3 separate regions of the Homo sapiens genome follow, and all the other regions are linked to region 1. Evidence: promoter capture Hi-C in human tissues and cell types (Jung and others, 2019). All regions are on one chromosome and are shown on one strand. Each heading gives the region's core, a stretch centred on a gene start or on the middle of the fragment in contact. The rest is flanking DNA. Distances are from core to core; before and after follow the strand shown.

Region 1 (3,457 bases), core at 546-3,045:
CCTAGTAAGACATGACATTCCTCATCACCTTTAACAGTTATGAAACTCCTTTTTCCCCCTTTCCACTGCAATTCAGCCTCATTTGAGAGAATGAGATATGTCTGAGGTCTTGGCTTAACTGCTAAATTGGGGAGGAGACAAGTATAATGGTTAAATGTGGACTGCCTGATTTTTTGTCTGGGCACTTATTAGCTGTGTGATCTTGGGCAAACTGTTTAACTTTTCTTTGACTTCGTCTCTTCATCTTTAAAATGACAGATGGTGGTGATGAAAATTAAATGAACTATTAACATAGCTATTTCTCATCACCTAGTGGTGATGAAAATTAAATGAGCTATTAATATACTAAAGTTCTTAGTTGTTATTAATACCATTTAATTTTCCCCTTCTGGAGGTTAGAAAGGGGTTTTATTCATTATGGTACTTCTCATAGTATACAGTATAATGCCCTATACATGTGTTCAATAACTAACGTTGAAAGAATAAGCACTTTTATATATTTTCAACAGTAATTACTTTAAAAACTTAAGAAGAACTAACCTTCAACAAAATGTGATCCTTCAGTAACAAACTCCAGTAACTGGTCAAAGATTGCAGTAATCGCCTTCTTAGCCAGCACAAAGTGCTTCAGTGGAGAAACAGGTTCTGCCATTATGCTACTAGAGGGAGATAAAGTTAGAAAAGCACCAACTAAAGTGGATGATAGACATGCAAACTGATGACACACCAGTGACATTCATCAACTCCCCAATGAAATAAATTATGCTGGCAAAATGTTTTTAGGTAATTCTTTTTTGGGAGTGTTCTAGTCAGACAGTTAGAGACGACTTTTGAATGATATTTCACTAAAATAAGTGAAATCTATTAGCCAAAATCTTGGTTGCAATTTCTACTCAATTTCCCTTTGGTGAAGACGAAACTAATTGTGACTAAGTTTGTCACTGCATGTGACTCTAAAGTACATCAGGGAACAGGGTTAGTGAGGCGAAGCCAAATTCACACACAATAAGGAAGTTACTAAGTTTCTCAACCTGAAGCTCTAGGTGAGTAGGAGTGGATATGCAGAGTGAGGAAATAAAATTCTAAGATCACAATGTGAGGCTGACATTTAGAAAGGTAAGGCTTCAAGAGGGCATTAACGCTTCCAGCCAAAGTACCAGAAACTTCAAGGACTATAAGTTTAAGAAAGCATAGGTGGTTTCTCAAGAAAAAGACACCAAAGACAAACAATCACGGTCTAATCCTGGTGTGTACATGGAAAGGAACAGTGGCCATAAAGAAGGCGGATTCTTCCAGAGAGTCAAGAAATGACCGCGCGAAGGAGCTGCGTGGGAAAAGCCGGGTGGGGGTAACGCCCCGGTCCGGCCGGTGTGAACACCTGCCTTAGAAAAGGCCTCCCACCTTCCCACACCGGGCGCAGGAGTCAGGGCCAGAGCCCACCCCCGCCCCGCGCACGACCGTCTAGGTCCGGATCCCCCAATCCCACCCCCGAGCACGGCCTCGTGGGCTCCGTGGGCTCGACTCGGCCGCCAGCCCCGTTCGCCCGACAGCTGGCTCTCTCCTTTCCCACAGGACCGCGGCGGGCGGCGCCTCGTCACACAACGCTGCATGCACGACTCCCGCCCCCGGTCCCCAGTCGCTCGAAGGTCACTCCGAGCGTCGCAAACGTGCTGTCGAGGCAGCCGGCACTCACAGTCTCCGCTCCAACTATCACCCGGCAACAGCAACTCGGCCACAGATGCCAAACTGCCTCATCTTCCCGAGAAGTTAAAGGCGGAGAGGAGGCAGGGGGAGTGGCAAAGGGCGGTCACTTCCGGCCTCTTGCCTCCTCTGTTCTGTTTGGCTCCGTGGCCGGAAGCGCATCTATGCCAGGCGCCATTTTCCTTAAGGGCAGAAGGCAAGGTTTGTTGTGGGCAGAGACTGCTACCAGGAGAGTGGTTTTCCGTTCCCCCTTCCAACTTCTTCCCCTCCCTTCTCCCCTCAAAGTGTCCAAGTATCTGCCCAGCCTAGGCTTAGCTAGCTTCCAATGATGGTGGTGGCTGACGCCTATAATCCCAGCACTTTGGGAGACCGAAGGGGTGGGATATCTCTTAAGCCCAGGAGTTCGAGACTAGGCTGGGCAACATAGGGAGGCGCCCCCCCCCCCGCCCCCGACCCTCTTCCTCCTCCCCGTCTCTACAAAATTAAAAAATGAAAAATTAAAAAAATTTTAAAAACTTAGCGAGGCGTGGTGGCACACACCTGTGGTCCCAGCTACTTCGGAGACTGAGGCGGGGGGATTGTTTGGGCCCGGGGCTGCAGCGAACTGTGATTTATCGTGCCACTGCACTCCAGCCTGGGCAAGAGAGCGAGACATTTTTTCAAATAAATAAATAAATAAATAAAAGAAAAGAAATCCAGATCGTATTACTTTCCGAACTTAAAAAGCTTTCCAGGCCGGGCGGGGTGGCTCACGCCTGTAATCCCAGCACTTTGGGAGGCCGAGGCGGGCGGATCACAAGGTCAGGAGATCGGGAGCATCCTGGCTAACACGGTGAACGCCCGTCTCTACTAAAAATACAAGAAGTAGCCGGGCGTGGTGGTGGCGGGCGCCTGTAGTTCCAGCTACTCAGGAGCCTGAGGCAGAGAATTGCTTGAACCCGGGAGGCGGAGGTTACAGTGAGCCGAGATCGCGCCACTGCACTCCAGCCTGGGCGACAGAGCCAGACTCCATCTCAAAAAAAAAAAAAAAAAAAAAAAAAAAAAAAAAAAAGCTTTCCAACAGCTTGCCATTATACTTAAAATTAAAGCTTCGGATGGTAACCGCCCAAGGAAAGCCTTCACCTTGCCCGCTGACTAGCCAGAACTGATACAAGACAGGGGGATTGCAAATAAAGACTTAGTCACGCAAAGCCGGCTGTATGGGAGACTGGAGTTTTATTATTACTGAAATCAGTCTCCCCGAGCAGCACTGGGGAGCAGAATTTTTAAGGACAATTTGGTGGGTTGGGGGAGGCCACTGAGCCAGGAGTGCTGATTGGTCAGGGATGAAATCGCAGGGAGTGGAAGCTGTCTTTCTGCACGAGTCAGTTCCTGGGTTGGGGGACACTAGGTCAGATGAGCCAGTTTATCGGTCTGGGTCGTGCCAGCTAATCCATCAGTTCTGAGCATAGGTAGTCTCAAAGGGAACATTTACTCTGTTTGAATTTTAAAAATCATGATGGTATCCTTTTATTAGTTCTGTACTTAATAATTATATTTAATATAATTACTGCATTTTAAAGCAAGAGTGACATATTACAGGCTATAAATTATAGCACGGTAATTAAATGTTTAATATAGTAAGTAATAAGAAATTTAATCCATTGCTTTTGTGTGTGTGTGGAACACACATATTACCAAAAAGCCAGGAGAGTAAACACAAAGAAGGAAAAGAATTAAAATATAAACGCTAAAACCAACATAGATATTAACAAAA
Region 2 (3,457 bases), core at 303-2,802, 180 kb before region 1:
ATATATTTAAAATGCATAACACATTCAGTTTGATGAAATTCTACTTCAGAGAGAACCAAACTTCACAGTACAGAAAAGAGCTCCCTACTCTTGTCTCTGCAGCTCCGCTTTTAATGACTGGATTTGTTTAAAAAAAAAAAAAACTATGTAGACTTCTCTTTACACCACAGTTTCCCTCTGCCCCCAGGGAAAAAATGTGAGAAGGTGCTAGGTATATTTTAAAAATAATTTTGGTAAAGTCAGTAGAAAGACCTAGTTTACCTCAAAAGTCAGCATGGGAAAAATTTGGATCTGTTCAAAATAGGAATATATCATGTTCCTTGGAAAGTATGTGATTTTTAAAAATTAATTAAGACATAATACTTAGGCCTATCAATCGGTATGGTTAATTGACATATTTCTACCTGGACAGATGTTACATTGTATGAGTTGTATATTTTATATAAATAAAAGGTAAGTTTGGCTAGGTGTGGTGGCCCGTGCCTGTAATCCTAACACTTTGGGAGGCTAAGGCAGGAGGATCTTTTGAGCCCAGGAGTTCAAGACTAATCTGGGCAACATAGGGAGACCCCCATCTCTACAAAAAAATTAAAAATAAAAAAATTAGCCAGACCTGGTGGTGCATACCTGTAGTCCCAGCTACTGTGGTGGGAGGATCACCTGAGTCCAGGGGGTTCAAAGCTTCAGTGAGCCATGATTGCGTCACTGCACTCCAGCCTGGGCAACAGAGTAAGACTCTGTCTTAAAGATAGATAAATAAATAAATAAGGGTAAGTTTTATAACTGTACACATTTAACATGTATGTTTTTATTTGTGGCAGCAATAAATAAACCATTATGGATCAAGGAGGAACCCCATCACAGTTTTTAAACCTACACTCAAGCCAGGTTGAGTAATGTGGTGCTTACAGTCCCAGTTACTTGGGAGGCCGAGGTGGGAGGATTGCTTGAGAACAGGAGTTGGAGGCCAGCCTGGGCAACATAGCAAGACTCTGTACTTTTCTGTTTATTTATTTATTTATTTTAGAAATGGGATCTGCTATCTTGTTGTTTAAAAACAACAACACAACAACAAGGAAATAAATTCATTTGGCCCATCGCCATCCTATTTAAGCTTCTGATTTTTTTTTTCTTTTAAGAGACAAGGTTGGAGTGCAGTGGTGTATCACAGCTCACTGCAACCTCAAACTTCTGGGCTCAAGAAATCCTCTTGCTTCTGCCTTCCAAGTATTTGGGACTACAGGCGTGCACCACCATGCCCAGCTAATTTGTTTTTTTACTTTTAGTAGAAACAAGATCTTGCTATGTTGCCCAGGCTGGTCTTTAACTTCTGGCCTCAAGCAATCCTCCCCTGTTGGCTTCCCAAAGTGCTGGAATTAAAGGTGGGAGCCACTGAGGCCGGCCAGTTTCTGATTTTTTTAAAAAACTTTCAATTGATTAATTTATTTTGGGGGGAAATCTCACTGTGTTGCTCAAGCTGGTCTGAACTCCTGGGCTCAAGGAATCCTCCTGCCTCAGGCTCCCAAGGAGCTGGAATTACAGGTGTAGCCGCTATGCCTGGTTTAAGCTTCTAATTTTCATGCGCACTCATTTAACTAAGATATATTAAATGCTTTCTGTTTTTCAGGTGTTATGCTGACAATAGGTAGCTGAGTATGTGCCTCTTCTCCAGGGACTTGCAATCTAGTTGGAAAGACGGCATGTAAATAACTTTTTAGGGATATGTGACAAGCAGTCCATTTGGGCTGCTGTAATAAAATACCTTAGATTGGGTGATTTATAAATAACAGAAATTTTCTTCTCACAGCATTGAACATTGAACGGGCCATACTAACAAGTGCTGCGAGAAGCCTTTGATTCTGCCTGGAAAGATCTGGAAAGGCCAAACCCCTGTCCTCAGTTCCTTGTAGAGACAACAGGGTAATCTTTTTTTTTTTTTTTTTTTTTGAGACAGAGTTTTGCTCTCATCACCCAGGCTAGAGTGCAATGGTGCAATCTCGGCTCACTGCAACTTCTGCCTCCCGGGTTCAAGCGATTCTCCTGCCTCAGCCTCCCAAGTAGCTGGGATTACAGGCACGTGCCACCATGCCCGGCTAATTTTGTATTTTTAGTAGAGATGGGGTTTCTCCATGTTGGTCAGGCTGGTCTCAAGCTCCTGACCTCAGGTGATTTGCCCGCCTCGGCCTCCCAAAGTGCTGGGATTATAGGTGTGAGCCACCGCGTCTGGCCTAGCAGCAGGGTAATCTTTGTACCGGGGTTGGAAACTGGTAGCCTACGGACTATATCAGGATTCAAAACTCATTTTGTTTGGTCTACATAGGATTTTGAAAATCCGAGAATATCTTATATAAAAATTCAGATTTGTGGAGTTTTCTGAAAAGTTGCAAGATCTGGCAATTCTGGGCTACAATCAACTGGATCTAGACAAGCTGCTTTCAGTTTGTTTTATAACCAAACTGCATGACCACTGACTAATTATATTGCCTTTCAGCAGTTGACCTTCTGTCCCGTTAAGTGGGATTGATAATACCACGTTTGCGTTTTTTGAAAGTGGATTCTGTAAGAGCAGGGAGTGGAGCAGTATTTCTCAAAATGTGGTCTACAGCTACCTTTGTCAGTATCATGTACAACAGTTCTTCCCAACATTTACTGTGGGTATGAATCACCTGGCTATTCTGCAGACTGTGCTCTTTCAAAGTCATACAGTGCATCATTCAACAAAGGAGTCACTAGTCACATGTGACTACTTCAGTTTAAATTAATTCACATTCAACTCCTCAGCATACTAGTCACATTTCAAATGCTCAACAGCTACATGTTCCTGTGGCTACATCACTGGACAGTGCAATAGAACATTTCCATCATCACAGAAAGCTTCATTCGATAGTGCTGTACACAACATTGTCTCAGTCCTTAATGCCTGCCATCACAAAATACCTTAGACTGAGTAACTTATAAACAACAAAAATGTATTTCTCACAGTTCTATAGGCTGGAAAGTCCAAGATCAAGGCACTGGCAGATTCAGTATCTAGAAGACACCTGCTCAGAGTATCCTTACAGGGTGGAAGGGGAAAAGCAGCTCCCTGGGACCCTCTTTTATAAACGTACTAATCCCATTCATGATGGCTTTCCCCTGGTGACCTAATCACCTCCCAAAGACTTTATCTCCTAATAACCATCACATTGGTGATTTCAAAACAAGAATTTTGAGGGGATGACATTCAGGCCATAGCAAACATTGTCTAAGTCCACCTGAAACCACTCATCACCTAGGGATGTCATTTTGTTTGATCTACTATGCTTTATTGATTAGGGTTGATTGTCTTTAAAATTAGATGTGGACATTTAGAAAATTAATCAGTCACAATTGGTTTTTTGTCATATAGAGAGTCAAATGCTTTATGTCCAATAAAAAAGAATCTTAAAGGTTTTTGTTTGTTTTTTTGTTTTTTGTT
Region 3 (3,457 bases), core at 707-3,206, 180 kb after region 1:
TTAATTTCATTTTTGGATGGTTCATTGCTAGTGTTTAGAAATATAATTAATTCCTGTTTGTTATCTTTTACTCTACAGCCTTGCCTAAGTCACTTGTTAGTTCTAGTATTTTTTTTTTTTCTTTTTGGTAGATTCTTTAGAACTTTCTGTATAAATGCCATCTATTTGGTTTTACTTCTTCCTTTCCATTCCAAATATCCTTTAAATTTCTTTTTCTTGCCTTACTGCATTAGCTAGGACCTCCAGGATAATGCTGAATAAAAGCAGTAAGAGCAAACATCCTTGCCTTGTTCTTCATCTTAAGTGGAAAACTATAAAATCATTCACCATGAAGTATGATTTTTTTTTTCACAGACATTCTTTATCAGGTTGAGGAAGTTGCCTTCAATTCCTAGCTTGCTAAGAGTTTTTATTATAATTTGTATTGAATTTTGTCAAATACTTTTCTGCATCTATTGAGATGATCACTTTTTTTTCAAATATATCTTATTAGTATGGTATATTACACAGAATTGATATTTCTAAGTTAAGTGAGCCTTGCATTGCTGGGATAAATCCTACTTGACCATGATTATAGTATTATCCTTTTAAATATAATATTGCTAATTAAACATGCTAATATTTTGCTAAGGATTTTTGTGTCTACATTTATGAGGAATACTGGCTGCTAGTTTTCTTTTCTTGGGATGCCTTTGTGTTGGCTTTGGTATCTAGTAATACTGTCCTCATAAAATGAATTGTGATGCTCTCCTCCCTCCTGCTTTTCTGAAAATGTGGTTGGGACTTGTATTTTTTTCTTCCTTTGGTGTCTGACAGAATTACTAGCTATGCCATTAAAGCCCAGATTTTCTTTATTGGAAGTTTTAAACTACTAATTCAATTTATTTACTCTATATAGGTCTATTTAGATTTTCTACTTCTTTTGGAGTCAGTTTTGGTAATTAGTATCTTTCAAAGAATTTGTTCATTTCATCTAAGTTGCCAAATTGGTTGTTGTAAACTTGTTCATAATATTCCTTTATCTTTTTAGTATTTATAGTATCTGTAGTAATACCCATTCTTTCATTCTCAGTATTTCTAATTTACATCCCTTCTTGTTCATTTTAGCTAAAGATTTACTGAACTCTTTAAAGAACCAGCTTTTGATTTCCTTGATTTCTGTTCTGATCTTTATTACTCCCTTTCTTCTACTTACTTTGGTACACTTTACTCTTTCTTTTCTAGCTTCTTAAGGTAGTAGCTTAGATAATTGACTTTTTAACCTTTCTTCCTTTCTGGCATAAGCATTTAAAGCCAAACATTTCTTTCTTAGCACTGCCTGAGAGCTACATACCAAATATTTTCTTACATTTTGTGTTCATTTTCACTCAGTTAAAAATATTTTCTATTTTGCCCAGTGAATTCTTTTTTCACCCATGGGTTACTCAGAAATAGTATTCATTTGCACATATTTGGGGATTTTACTTATTTCTTCCTTATTTCTCTCCATGATTTTTAATTCCTTTGTAGTTGCAAAACATACCATATAATTTCAATTCTTCCATATTTATTAAAACATTTCATTTTTGTGGGCCAGTATACTATTCACCCTGGCTAATGTTACCAATGCACTTTAGAATAATGTGTTTTCTACTGTTGTTGGGTATTCTGCAGATGTCAATTAGATTGAGTTGGCTGATTGCTTTATTCCTGTCTTCTGTATCCTGTTTTCTGTTTACTTATCCTATCAACTGTTGAGAGAAGAGTATTAAAATCTCCAACTCTTCTAAATATTGAATTGCCTATTTCATCTCTCAGTTCTATCAATCTTTGTTTCATGCATTTTGTGCCTCTCTTAAGTGCATATACATTTAGAATTTTTATATTTTCCTGCCATATTTGTCACTTCATAATTTTGAAATGTTCCTCTTTATCTCTAATAATACTCCTTTTCTTACAATCTATTTTGGCTGACATTAACACAGTTACTCCAGTATTTTGATGCCTGTTTTCTGAAGAAGGAAATCATCCAACCTCCTCACACTGTCCTTACTGGAAGATACATTTATTTTGATGATAAAAATTAAACAAAAATTTAAAAGGGGAATATAATTTATAGGTTCAGAAGATATTTAAAATGAAAGCATGTTTATCACACTTTTATACTAATACAATTAAAAATCTGTGTTAAAAAGCATATATGAACAAACGTATTTCTATATCCCCTCCAATGTCCCCCACTAGAATTCACTCCGTTACCAACATTGGCTTCACTTTGGGGAGAATGTGAGTGAGTGGTCAGGAGAAACTGATACAGGAAATTAAAATTTGCGAATATGTCTTCTCCTTTATATTACTTTTTTCCCTTACAAAAGCAAGGCAAAAAAATAGCTATTGATTGTTTCTTGAATTATTCGTAATATGAATGACAATGCGAGTCTTTCATTATTAAGCCTGACTGAAGCTTCTAGTTTGGTATATCTATTACTTAGTACGTCAAAGAATAGCTTTCTATCCCTATTTTACTAAGGTCGTGTGTGTGTGTGTGTGTGTGTGCGCGCGCGCGTGTGCACGCGCATGTGCATGTCTGTGCTGGAGAAAGGAAGAGGGAGGGAGGAAGGGAGGCAGGGAAAGAGAGAGAATTAATGTCTGTTACAGATTTCCTAAGATTAAAATGACCTTTGTATTTCCAGAATAAATGCCATTTGGCTATGGTATGTGTGTGTGTTTTAACAAACTACTGAATCTGCTAATATTTTATTTAAGATAACTAATACTTTAAGTGAGATTGGCTTGCAGTTTTTTTGTATGTGTGTAATGTCTATGTCCACCTCTAAAACAGAGTAAGAAGTATTATAACAGCTTTTAATATACTGAATGTTTGAAAGAAGAGTAATGAGAAGGGGCTAGCCTAAGTAGGTATTAAATCCTTAGTTATAAAAATAGAATAGTATTGGCCCATGCAGATCCAGAGAACAGAACTGAGTTCAGAAACAAACTTAAGTACAATAGTTGCTGCAATTTTGTATAGGGAAAAACCCCAGAACCTTAATTAGGACAGATTATTTAATAGACGGTCCTGGTAGAATTGATTAGTCACGTGAACTGAAAAAAAATGAATTTTAACTGCTTTAAAATAAACGAAGAAAACTTTAAAATGCTCCCAAGTAACACAAAAGATTGAAGACATGGAAAAACATTCCACATTCTCGGATAGGAAGACAACCAATTCCCAAAATGTCAATTCTTCCTTAGATAATCTACACATATGATGTAATCCCAATAAAATGCCAATAGGATTTTTGTGTTTGTGTGTAGAATTAAGCATGCTGATTCTAATGTTTAAAAAAAAATTGCAGGAGACCAGAAAAATTAGGGGAGGGGAGAAGGCAGGGGGAGAGAAAGGTCTAGCCCTACTGGATAGGTCACTTCAAAGAGGGCTTGTGGGGCTGTGAAACCAAGAGGTCTTAACAGTATG

What was found. Contacts are between HindIII fragments. The study calls those that stand out against the background at their distance.
Region 2: a contact is called between a fragment that was not itself captured here and the fragment with the promoter of MFN1 in region 1, in 1 of the 25 tissues and cell types used here (thymus).
Region 3: a contact is called between a fragment that was not itself captured here and the fragment with the promoter of MFN1 in region 1, in 1 of the 25 tissues and cell types used here (pancreas).

Annotation. Positions count from the first base shown.
Region 1 is chr3:179,346,047-179,349,503 of GRCh38, reverse strand. MFN1 (mitofusin 1) reads right to left here and starts at 1,795. Exons shown (of 18, transcript NM_033540.3): 1 at 1,694-1,795; 2 at 541-659. The coding sequence starts at 652. RefSeq lists enhancers at 1,004-1,223, 1,557-2,086 and a silencer at 1,344-1,503. The HindIII fragment of the contact is 4,459 bases long and covers 1-2,590 here.
Region 2 is chr3:179,528,216-179,531,672 of GRCh38, reverse strand. No RefSeq gene overlaps it. Among named protein-coding and RNA genes, the nearest start is that of ACTL6A, 33 kb to the left of the region's middle. The HindIII fragment of the contact is 4,005 bases long and covers 1-3,457 here.
Region 3 is chr3:179,169,155-179,172,611 of GRCh38, reverse strand. The region is part of intron 1 of PIK3CA (phosphatidylinositol-4,5-bisphosphate 3-kinase catalytic subunit alpha); the gene reads right to left. It overlaps LOC124900560 (small nucleolar RNA SNORA25), which reads left to right and starts at 3,402; the gene lies at 3,402-3,457. The HindIII fragment of the contact is 7,643 bases long and covers 1-3,457 here.